Linked DNA regions of Homo sapiens: region 1 is linked to region 2. The links are contacts of gene promoters, found by promoter capture Hi-C in blood cells and fetal thymus (Javierre and others, 2016). All regions are on one chromosome and are shown on one strand. The core of a region is centred on a gene start or on the middle of the fragment in contact, and the rest is flanking DNA. Distances in the headings are between cores, read along the strand shown. Region 1 holds the start of C8orf88 (chromosome 8 open reading frame 88). Region 2 holds the start of PIP4P2 (phosphatidylinositol-4,5-bisphosphate 4-phosphatase 2).

What was found. Contacts are between HindIII fragments. The CHiCAGO score rates a contact against its expected background, and 5 or more counts as called.
Region 1: the fragment with the promoter of C8orf88 here is called in contact with the fragment with the promoter of PIP4P2 in region 2 in 17 of 17 cell types (naive CD8 T cells, fetal thymus, monocytes and 14 more); the score reaches 11.9 in naive CD8 T cells.

The regions. Positions count from the first base shown.
Region 1 is chr8:90,982,279-90,987,260 of GRCh38, forward strand. C8orf88 (chromosome 8 open reading frame 88) reads right to left here and starts at 2,960. Exons shown (of 6, transcript NM_001190972.2): 1 at 2,836-2,960. RefSeq lists a silencer at 2,984-3,143. The HindIII fragment of the contact is 2,363 bases long and covers 2,237-4,599 here.
Region 2 is chr8:91,037,333-91,042,133 of GRCh38, forward strand. PIP4P2 (phosphatidylinositol-4,5-bisphosphate 4-phosphatase 2) reads right to left here and starts at 3,527. Exons shown (of 7, transcript NM_018710.3): 1 at 3,312-3,527. The coding sequence starts at 3,417. RefSeq lists a silencer at 3,549-3,748. The HindIII fragment of the contact is 15,293 bases long and covers 1-4,801 here.

The DNA of each region.
Region 1 (4,982 bases), core at 1,710-4,209, 56 kb before region 2:
ATATTTTCTATGTAGAAGAGTATATTTAAAATAAGGACCAAAAAGCAACCTAATATACATTGCTTTATTTGATGTTTATCCTAGCTATTTTAGTTAAGACCCTAATACTAGTATGTAGTAACTTTCCATCCTGTTCCCCATATGAAACTAGTGAATCAGAATACAATAGGATAGAGTACTTTGGCACACACTTCGTTGTTTTTCATTGCTCAGCTGAAATTTAGTTGTAGGTTGTTAAGTCTTTTCCAATCGCTGAGCAAGGCAAATCCACAGTATTCAAACTAGGGATTTTCAAGAGTTGGGGATTACAGAACTCCATTATATGACTTTGCAACACAAGTAAATAAACAAAAAATCAAAGCTCTTTTGGTGCCACCTACCCTTCAATTTACAGTAGGAAAGATACAGCAATGGCTCCCTGTATATAAATCCACATCAGTTAAGGAAATTAGAAAAGATGGTGTCATTCAGTACTCTGTTTAATATTTTTTTTTAAAGTAAACGATGCCTGCAGGGAAACACTGACATTATAGGGGACAAGTTTGGGATTACAATGCATAGTACATTCCACCATCATGTTATTAATGAAAAAGGTTAAGTATTTATAAAAAGTAATTATTATTGTAAAACTGAGTCACGAGATTATAATTAAGGCAGAACTCCATAAACCAAAACCTAATTCTCAGTTTAGTTAAAAATAATAAAGACTTAACTGCACTACAAAGTCATTATACAAAACAAATTCAGTCTTAAACTCTAATGCCTGCTTCATCCATGGAATGTAGAGATCAAAAAGTTTCCCTTGAAGCTACTGGTGCTACCTAGAGTAGCCATGTATCATATCAACGATTCAAAGCACAGTTACAAAATAAACAGAATTCTGCCTACAACATTGGGTAGCAAGTAGTGGGCCTATCATAAGGTTGTAAAATGTAAATTTAAAAATGTAAATGTATAGTTTTGTGGTATAAATGTTTTTTAAAGGATATTTTGATCCAATGTCTCCAAAAAAACTTTCTATTAATACATACTGAGAAATGGTTGCTGAATAGTTTTTTTCAAGATCACACACACTTAACAAATCATCTTTAAAGACCAAGTTGTATGAATAGAATATTGGTAAATCAGTTAGTTATTTACAGTTGCTATTCTACACCTGGCAATACTAACTATATCTTAGGTTCCTTTTCTTTTTAAAAAATTTACCTAAGTATGAATCTTCAGGCCTTATCAGTCCTGATATTACCAGTAAACCTAGAATTGTCTAAAATACAATGGGATAATAAGCAGATACATTGACCACTTTGGCCAAAATCTTATTAATCTTATTTTTTAATTAAGATGCCTTTTTAAGGTCCTACTACATACTAAATATAATTTCATTTAATTTTGAGCCATATATGAACGGTGGAAGAAAATTATTATTAGTCCCACTTCACAGATAAGAAACCTGAGGCTCAGAAAAATAAGAGACATGCCCAAGTCCACATAGCTACTAAGTGCTAGATATTAGGATTTGACTACAAAGTTCACACCTTTATATCAAAACTTGCCTATTTGTTACATAAAAGAAAGATATCTGACTGTCCATTTATTACATGTGGACACTGCGTGTATAGATTTAAAAATTAATGTGAAAAGTAACATTTATTTATAAGGCCATGCAGAATAAATTGGTATATGCTAATAATATCCATTTCTTCAATTTACCATTTTTCTTAGAATACTAAATAAATTAGGGAGTACTGTGCTTTCCTCACGCTACAGACATGGTATACTGCCATACTAACCATAGATCACAGCATATGAAATATACTATGCACTGTTTTTAGAAGCTGAGTACTATACTTAAACTCCAATATAAATTCTAGTCTTCTTTGGAAAGTACTGATGCTACCGCTGCCGTTGAGAAATAAGATCATATAAAGTGAAATAATGAAATGAAAAGACCATATTTGAATTTACCTTGTGTATAATTCCCATATGATAACCAGATAAAATTTCATCTCAATTTCCAACTTCAAAACATTACAAAGTTAGGATTCCTTGAAACCCAATACTGCTTGTAAGTAAACTGCTCACACTGACAAAATGATAGATGAAGAGAAACATACAGGAAACATCGGGGAGTAAGAAATAAACCACCTATGACTCAAGTGGTGAAAGACATTTCACGTTCCATATATCTGGTTGCACTATTAAGGAAAAATTAAAACGAAAATATCAAAAAACTAGAAGCTTGGAGAGTTCCAACATATCTTCCATTTCATGCCTTCTCTTTATAACTAATTTAATTTTTTTTTTGGTCTATTTGAGGGATTTCTCAAAACAAAACACAATTTAACATTCGGATGGGCTAAAGCTGTCCAGGTAATAGGTGTCTGTGATTACTTTAGTCATGTAACTGTCCTTTCCGTAGCTTTGACTAAAACACCAGCAATGAAAACCTTGTGCCACCGGGTGGAGGGGGCAAATCGTCTTGAAAGCCTCCCACCGCCTGGCACCAGGTGCTGGGGCAGAGCCAAGGGGAGCTGTGTACTTAGCTCCTTTTTTGGCGATGGCTTTGGTCTCGGCCACTTGCCCCTCCGTCGGGCTCCCCTGGCCCCCTACACTTTCTTTCCCCTCATCCGACGCTCTCGCTCCCATCCCACTCCCATTCAGGGTCCACAGGGTACTGAAGGGGCCCTGAGAGATTTCCCGACCCACCTCAGAGCTTCTCTTCCTCGCCTCAACTTTCCCGGGGTCGGGCCTGGGAGACGGCGCCCACCCGCCTCCTCCACACCACGGGGCCCGACTTCCGTCCCCCAGTGTCGCTCATCCTCCCTAGCCACTTACCGACTCAAAATCCACGGGGATTTCGGGGCAGCAGCGTCGCCGCGCTCAGCCCACACGCGGAGGCCGAGCGCCCTGCTGCCCGTCGGGGAACGGCTCCTGCCGCTGGTCCGCTGGCTGACCGCGGTGGCGGCGGCGGGGGGCGAGGGGCGGGGGGCGAGGGGCGGGGGGCGGGGCGGGAGGCGGCTCCGAGGGGCACGAGGCGGGCCCAGGGCGGGCGCGGGGCGTGGCCTCGGGCGCTGAGCCTCGAGAGCAGCCGCACCCCTGCCGGGGTAGAACCGTTAAAAGGGTGGCGCGCGCTTTCCCGGGCGAGCTGGGCGCGTGGGGTTGGAGCGGCGCCACCCAGAGCCGGTCGTCTAGGGTAGGAGGCCGCGAGTGAGGCGCTGACAGGCTAGCCCTCGACGGGGCGCGCCCGCGTGAACGGCCTTGGGGGCCCCAGACCGTGGCCCTGCTTGTGCGAAGACTGGGAGGCGCCAGGCGGGCCGCCTGCTGGGGGCTTGGCGGCGGGTTCCAGGCAGCGTCTGTGAGGGAGGCCGCCTCTGTGAGGGAGGCCGCCGTCGTGCTGACGACTGAGTCCACCCTACTCCTGTCCCCCGTCAGAGCTGCTGGCAGGCGCTGCTTTCCCCTTGGTGCATTTAGTGGGTGTCGGGATTCGGGTTGGCAGGGAGGAAGATGTTTGAGACCTGGTTTACCTCAGACCAGGGATACAGCGTTTCACACAGACTGCCATCCTGAAAGGAACAAAATGAATTAAGGCAACTCCATCCGAATCATTTCTTTTTAATCTTCACCTTCAATCCTTTTGCTAATTTTTCATTATCTTTGAGTGTCCCCAGAGGGGGACTGTCTGCTTGTACTGAGGGACGTGGAGGTGGCAGTCCCTCACGTCCCCAAGCACCAAAAGGACAGTTGAAAATGCACTGGCAAACACTGAACGGTTTTAAGTGGGGCACTATCAGGATTTACCATTTTGGAAGGTATGAAGTTTCACAAGCACTTCCATGTATAGTCAAGTTATTGGAGCTGTCTCCGTTTAGAAATGGCTTCCAGAAACACTCCTACTATCCACTGAGACAACTCGCCTGGCATCAGAGACCTAGGGTCCAGGGTCAGAGATGGGTCATGATAAAAGGGCATCCCTTGGGGTGAGGCACCAGAAGTCTGCACAGTGGAATCAATATATTCCAACCACCAGATGTAGAAAATCTTAAGTGCAGGATGTGGTTCTCATCCATCTAGTCACAACAGAAGTTTTCTTCTTCAGGAATATACTTAACAATGAAGCATGTATAATTTTATATACATCTTACAATAAAATTATTTTGTGCATATCACTGTATGAAGTCAGTAGAAACTATTGTGACAAAAATGTAAATTGGAAGAATTCCAATTCAGATCAGTATTAGTAATTTATTGAGAGGAAGAGAGAAATTAGACTAGACAGACTCCTTGATTTTTTGATAATTGAGGAAGAAAAATGAACCATATAAACATATCGAAACTTTTCAAAATCTTATTGATAATGACATAAAATTTTGGCATCTACAAGGATAATCTAGAATTCATACCTTTACAACAAGAACTTGACAACAAACAGGTTAATGACTTTTAGCAACTTAAAGGTTAGTCACTGCCTGAGAAAACTTGAAGTGCCCTGAAATCACAGAGTTCACCTAAGAACCTTAAGATGAGTTTCCCCAAATTTAGCAATACTAAAAATTGGCATTATTACCAATAACAAATTGTGAAACTGCAATAACTTTTTTAAGCTTTCAATAACAAAAAATACATGTTGACTAACTTTGCTTTGAAAAGACTACCACATTATTCATTATCACCAGGGAAAGTGCATTACAAAATTACTGTCAAATGATGAGGCAATAAAAAAATGAAAACTAAAAATATAGGAAAAACATAGCAATGGTTCAGGTAGTTAATTTAAAATATCATTTTACTGAATTTCTAAAATATTTGTGGTATTTATCATCTTTTTAAAAATCTGTAATTTGTTGTCACTGATTTTCTTATTCTAAGTAAATATTTACTTTGGTCACCGCCCCCCATCCCTGCTTCCTGCCCTGCTCTGGCCACTCAAAGAATTGGAGAATGGATTGAGAAAAAGCAACAGTGGAAATAGATATCCCAGTTAG
Region 2 (4,801 bases), core at 2,277-4,776:
GCTGATCACTTTGCCAATACTGCTTTCTTTGCCTATAATGGTCTTCCAGTCCACCTTTTGCCAAGTTAACTCTTGCTCAACTTTCAGATCTCATTCAAGCATCAAGAAAGCCTTCCCCGACTCCCTCAACAAAATTAAATCTTAATTTATACTCTCAAGGTATTGCATATATTTCCAGCACTGTCTTCATCACCATTGCATTTTGCATCTGTTTGTGTGATTACATAATTTATTTCTCAATACCCCCACTACACTGGAAGAGGAGCCATGACTATTTTTCTTCTCCTACCACAGATTTGGCTGGTACTCAAATATTTATTTGCTGAATAATAAACTAAGTAAATCAAACTGTCTGCCTCTGTATAACAAATTATTATTTTCCCTTTATGAATTATAGTGAAGTATATAATCCCATTTCCATATTGAATACATAATGAGACAACCCCAGATATAAACAATTTTCACAGAAAAAATCTTATAAATTCAAAGGTCATATTCTTTTGTTATATCCTAACTACAAAATTAGCAGATGTATAAAGGAATCAATTAATACATCAAAACTGTGTAAATTTTGTGGTATTTCTTCCAATCTCCTTTCAGATGAGCCTAAAACTCTCTTTAATTTTAATTTCTATACCTAAACAAAAACTGGCAAGTATATTAAACGAAGCACTGCAAGCAGGAGAGAAGCAATTTCCTATGCATGAATCCAATACTGACAGTAGAGAACACTAGACATGCTCCACTTAGAAACCAACATGGATTGTTACACAGACCACACATGATTTTTCTTGTGCTAAAACCAAACACACAATACTAACTGCTCCCTGCTACATTATTAATAATCTGTCTAGAAATAAACACTCCACCGACTTTCAACCTGAAATGGACTATTTCATCTTGGAGGTGGGAACTAACATTCCTGTACTTTAGAAGGTAAAAGAAAGAGAAAGGGGTCAGATTGGAGAAAATATTCACTAGTTATAGCTTTTAACTTCTTTTTTTAAAAAAATAAAAGTCTGAATAATTGTAAATGGGATCATTAACTAAAATTCATTATCAGAAAGTGCATTCTGTTTCTGATTGAATTCCAACTGTCAACCCTAACGGTTTTCAACTACCAAAAACATCTGATCTAGTGATAGAATTTTTTTTACAATCTGAAATAATTCAGCCATGTATTTATTTATTCTTTCTCCCTAATACAATATAGTCTTCATGAGGGTATGGGATTGATCACTCTTGTTCCCCTAGAGCAGTGTATGGCACATTGTGCTTCCCAATAAATTAATAAATGAATGAATAGTGGTGGTCTTCCAGATCTTGTGTATTACTCATAATATTTATTACAATGTTTGTTACTTATGAAGAAAAATATTCTGTCAAAATGCAAATAAAATGCTTTTACCTCTCATTTATGCTTCTTCCTTAGTAGGTGTTATGTCATATGAAATTAAGAGTTTCTCTAATCATCTAACCTGTCTCATTCACCAATTAAGAAAAAATGTATTCTACCATAAGGCAGAAGCAGCTTTTTGCTAAGTCATTGAATTTCTCTGGTTGTTAAAAGTTTTCTACAATGACACTACTTTTTCTCAGTGGCTGAACTGGAACTTATACTTGTGTAGTTTGAGGAATCTTATTAGGTTAAACAAATATATGGAAAATAATAAAGATGTCTATAAGCTGATCCCTGAGTGTAGCCATTTTTAAAAAATAACTTATCCACTAGTTGAGGGCATGAAAATAGGTTATAGGACAAATACTTAAATTGAAACTTTGTCTCCTAATAAACCGCCAAACATTTTGCCATAAAAGGCTGACTTGATGAAGTTGAAACATTCATTAGTGAGTGTTTAAGTCTATTCTACATAATACGATTTAGATAACAGTAAAATATTCATATCAAATTGGCCCATTAGAGGAAATTCTCTTGCCTGGTGTCCTCTGATACAAGTTTAATGCTGACCAACAAAAATGACCTGTAGGTTTTCTGTGGGCAAGTCTCTCTCTGTGCCTTATTTCTCAAGCCATGGCTCACACTGAATTATTTACAGCTAAGCATCTTTTTCCTTTGTTTTTCTTCTTGTTAAGTATGGATTAAGATCTAGATAGTTTATTTTGAAGTTACAAAATGTTAAATAGAAATTTTAAATACTAAGCAAGTTCAACCTGCTCTACATCAGCTCTAATTCCAGACTTGAACTTAAAAACTTGTATTACAAGAAACATTACCTACTTATATTTTCAAAATCATTAACTTTTGCTTCCTTGGGTTTTTAAACTTTGCTCATATTTAGCCAAAAAAAGAGAGAGATGCACTTAAGGAACATTTGCAAGTGCCATTTTGACCAATCTTTTCACTAACCTAAGTGGGTTTTTTTAAGTCTTGCCTTCCATTTTCTTGTAACGCCTGACTCCACCTTATTTATTTACTATAGTAATCAACTAAAAGGCTTAGAACAACGATCGATTTTTAAATAAATCGAATAGTATGGTAAATAGATTCCATATTTCTCCAGATCCCATTGCATTTAATCTTTTTTTATTCTTCTTGAGAAAAAAATAGAAATATATGTATTATTAATTTGGGTTACTTTTTACAAGTTAATTTCAATCTCACCCAGATATGTGTTAAAAATATCCCATCTTCCCTTCTATGAGAAGTAAGGTCCTTCCTTCTCATTCACAATTAAATCTAACACATACTCCTTGAAAGTAGGAGTAAAAAGGAGGGGCAGGAATTTCAGACATATTAGGAATATTGATTAACTGTATTCATTTTGGATATGGCAATTCACTGAGTGAACAGAGCACTGTTGGGTGAATGGTAGCAGAAGCATATTGTTCAAGCTAAAGCCCTTTCAAGGACAGATGCCAAGGTGAGCAATACTCCTGGTTTCTCAGCAACGGAAAAAGATTTGTGAATGATTGTGAAAGATTTGCACCACCTCCTAGCTGCGCTTAGGGGCTGTTCTGAAAACAGCTAAGCAGAGCTTGGGAAATTCATGTCACATACTGTAGCCCTGGGTAAGAAGTGGTGAAATACACACACACACCATCACCACCACCACCACCACCACCATCACCACCACCACCACCACCACCATCACCACCACCACCAGAAAAACCCTGCGGAGAAGCTATCAGGCAGGCGGGCTTGCCTGGGAAGGCACAGTCAGCATCCTTCCTCAGCCCAAGCGAGAGGCTCACCTCCACCTCCAAGCTAGAGCTCCCAGGTCTTTATCCTTCTGGGCGTTTCCTTGCAAATCTACTTCCTTGCAAAGTAGAGGGATCTACGCTGGCCTTACCTCTGGGGCTGCTTTCTTGCAAGTACGGTGGGGCGGTGGGAGTGACATTTCCGGAGTGGGATGCTGACAGCAGAGGCGAGCGTTCGTCCACCCCATCAGCAGCCATGACTGCGGCAGCGGCGGGGCCTGGGGAGGCCGAGCCGGGGTTGCGGCCTCGGCGGAGTGGTGGCTACTGCTGCTGCCTCTGCTGCCGCTGCTGCCGCTGCAGCTGCTGCTGCTGCCGCCTCCGGGAGGGCCCGGGATGTGTCACAAGGCAGGAAGCGGGGGGAGGGGAGGGGAGGGTGCAGGACCAGGAGGCGGGGGAAGGGAAGCGCGCTGGGAGGCATGGCTGGGGGAGGGGAGGGGAGGGAGAAAGAAAGAACCCGCAGAGTGGGAGGAGCAGCAGTGGAGGAGCGGGAGCCCAGCCAGCCAGAGAAAAGGGGAACAAATTAGGACCAACTGGGAAACGCGAGGAAAAGAAGATGCCAAGTAACTGAAAGGGGGTCGAGAGTAAATGGGATGGAGGGGGACAAGTCCTTTGCTCTAGGAAAGACGGATAAAAAGCAGCCTGAAAGGGGCTAGCGAAGAGGAAAGGCCTGTGACTTGATTACAAGAAAACTGGAGCAAAAGCAGATTATCAAGTTTATCTCCCCTAAGGAGGAGGAGGGACTGACTCTTTGCTGTCAAACTTTGCAGCAGTTATATAAAGAAAACATCTTCCTGGGGTTATCAATTCCTCTAGGGTTTTTTTGTGGGAAATCAGTTTTCAACATCTGTTATCTAAGAGAAAGTAGATCTTTGCGGAAGTGTCAGCATTCCCTACTTTTCCTGATTGATTTTTTTTAACAACAGGAATGTTGGCCTGACCGGTTTGGAACTCTGGTAACAGTACCTTTTTGGAACTATGCAGTGTGTTGCCTTTTACAAGTTTCATTTTACAAAATAGGTTGTCATCTTAGTTTTGGTTTTGTAGCCTATTGTCCCTGACACATATACAGTAAGTAGGTTTATGAATAACGTCAAACAACGAAAAACAAGTTTCTTGAGACAAAAGTTTTAAAATAATCGTTTACTTGTAAAACAGAGTTAAAACACAAAAAACCCTAAGCACTGACAAAGATTCTTTGCTTGGTCAAACAAGTAAGGTTTCTGAATCTTATGCTGGGCCCATCTGCACTTCCTTATAAAATCCAGTTTTAGCAAAGAACCCTACTAACTTAATTTAGCAAGAAGCCCCATTCTCAATATTGATATTTGATCAGGTTCCTCATCCTCCAGCATCCCCCATGTGAGGCCTGAACTCCTGTTCTGTCTTCAGCAAGAATCCCGTTTGCTTGGTTTAGTCAGAATCCCCCTTATCCCTGATATTTCCTTGGTAATTTTCCATCTACTGCCCCTGTCCTGCATGCTCCTAGGCTATAAATTCCCACTTGTCCATGCTGCATTCAGAATTGAGCCTAATCTCTTCTTCAACATGGCAAGACCCTGCTGCCATGGTCCCTATACCTATC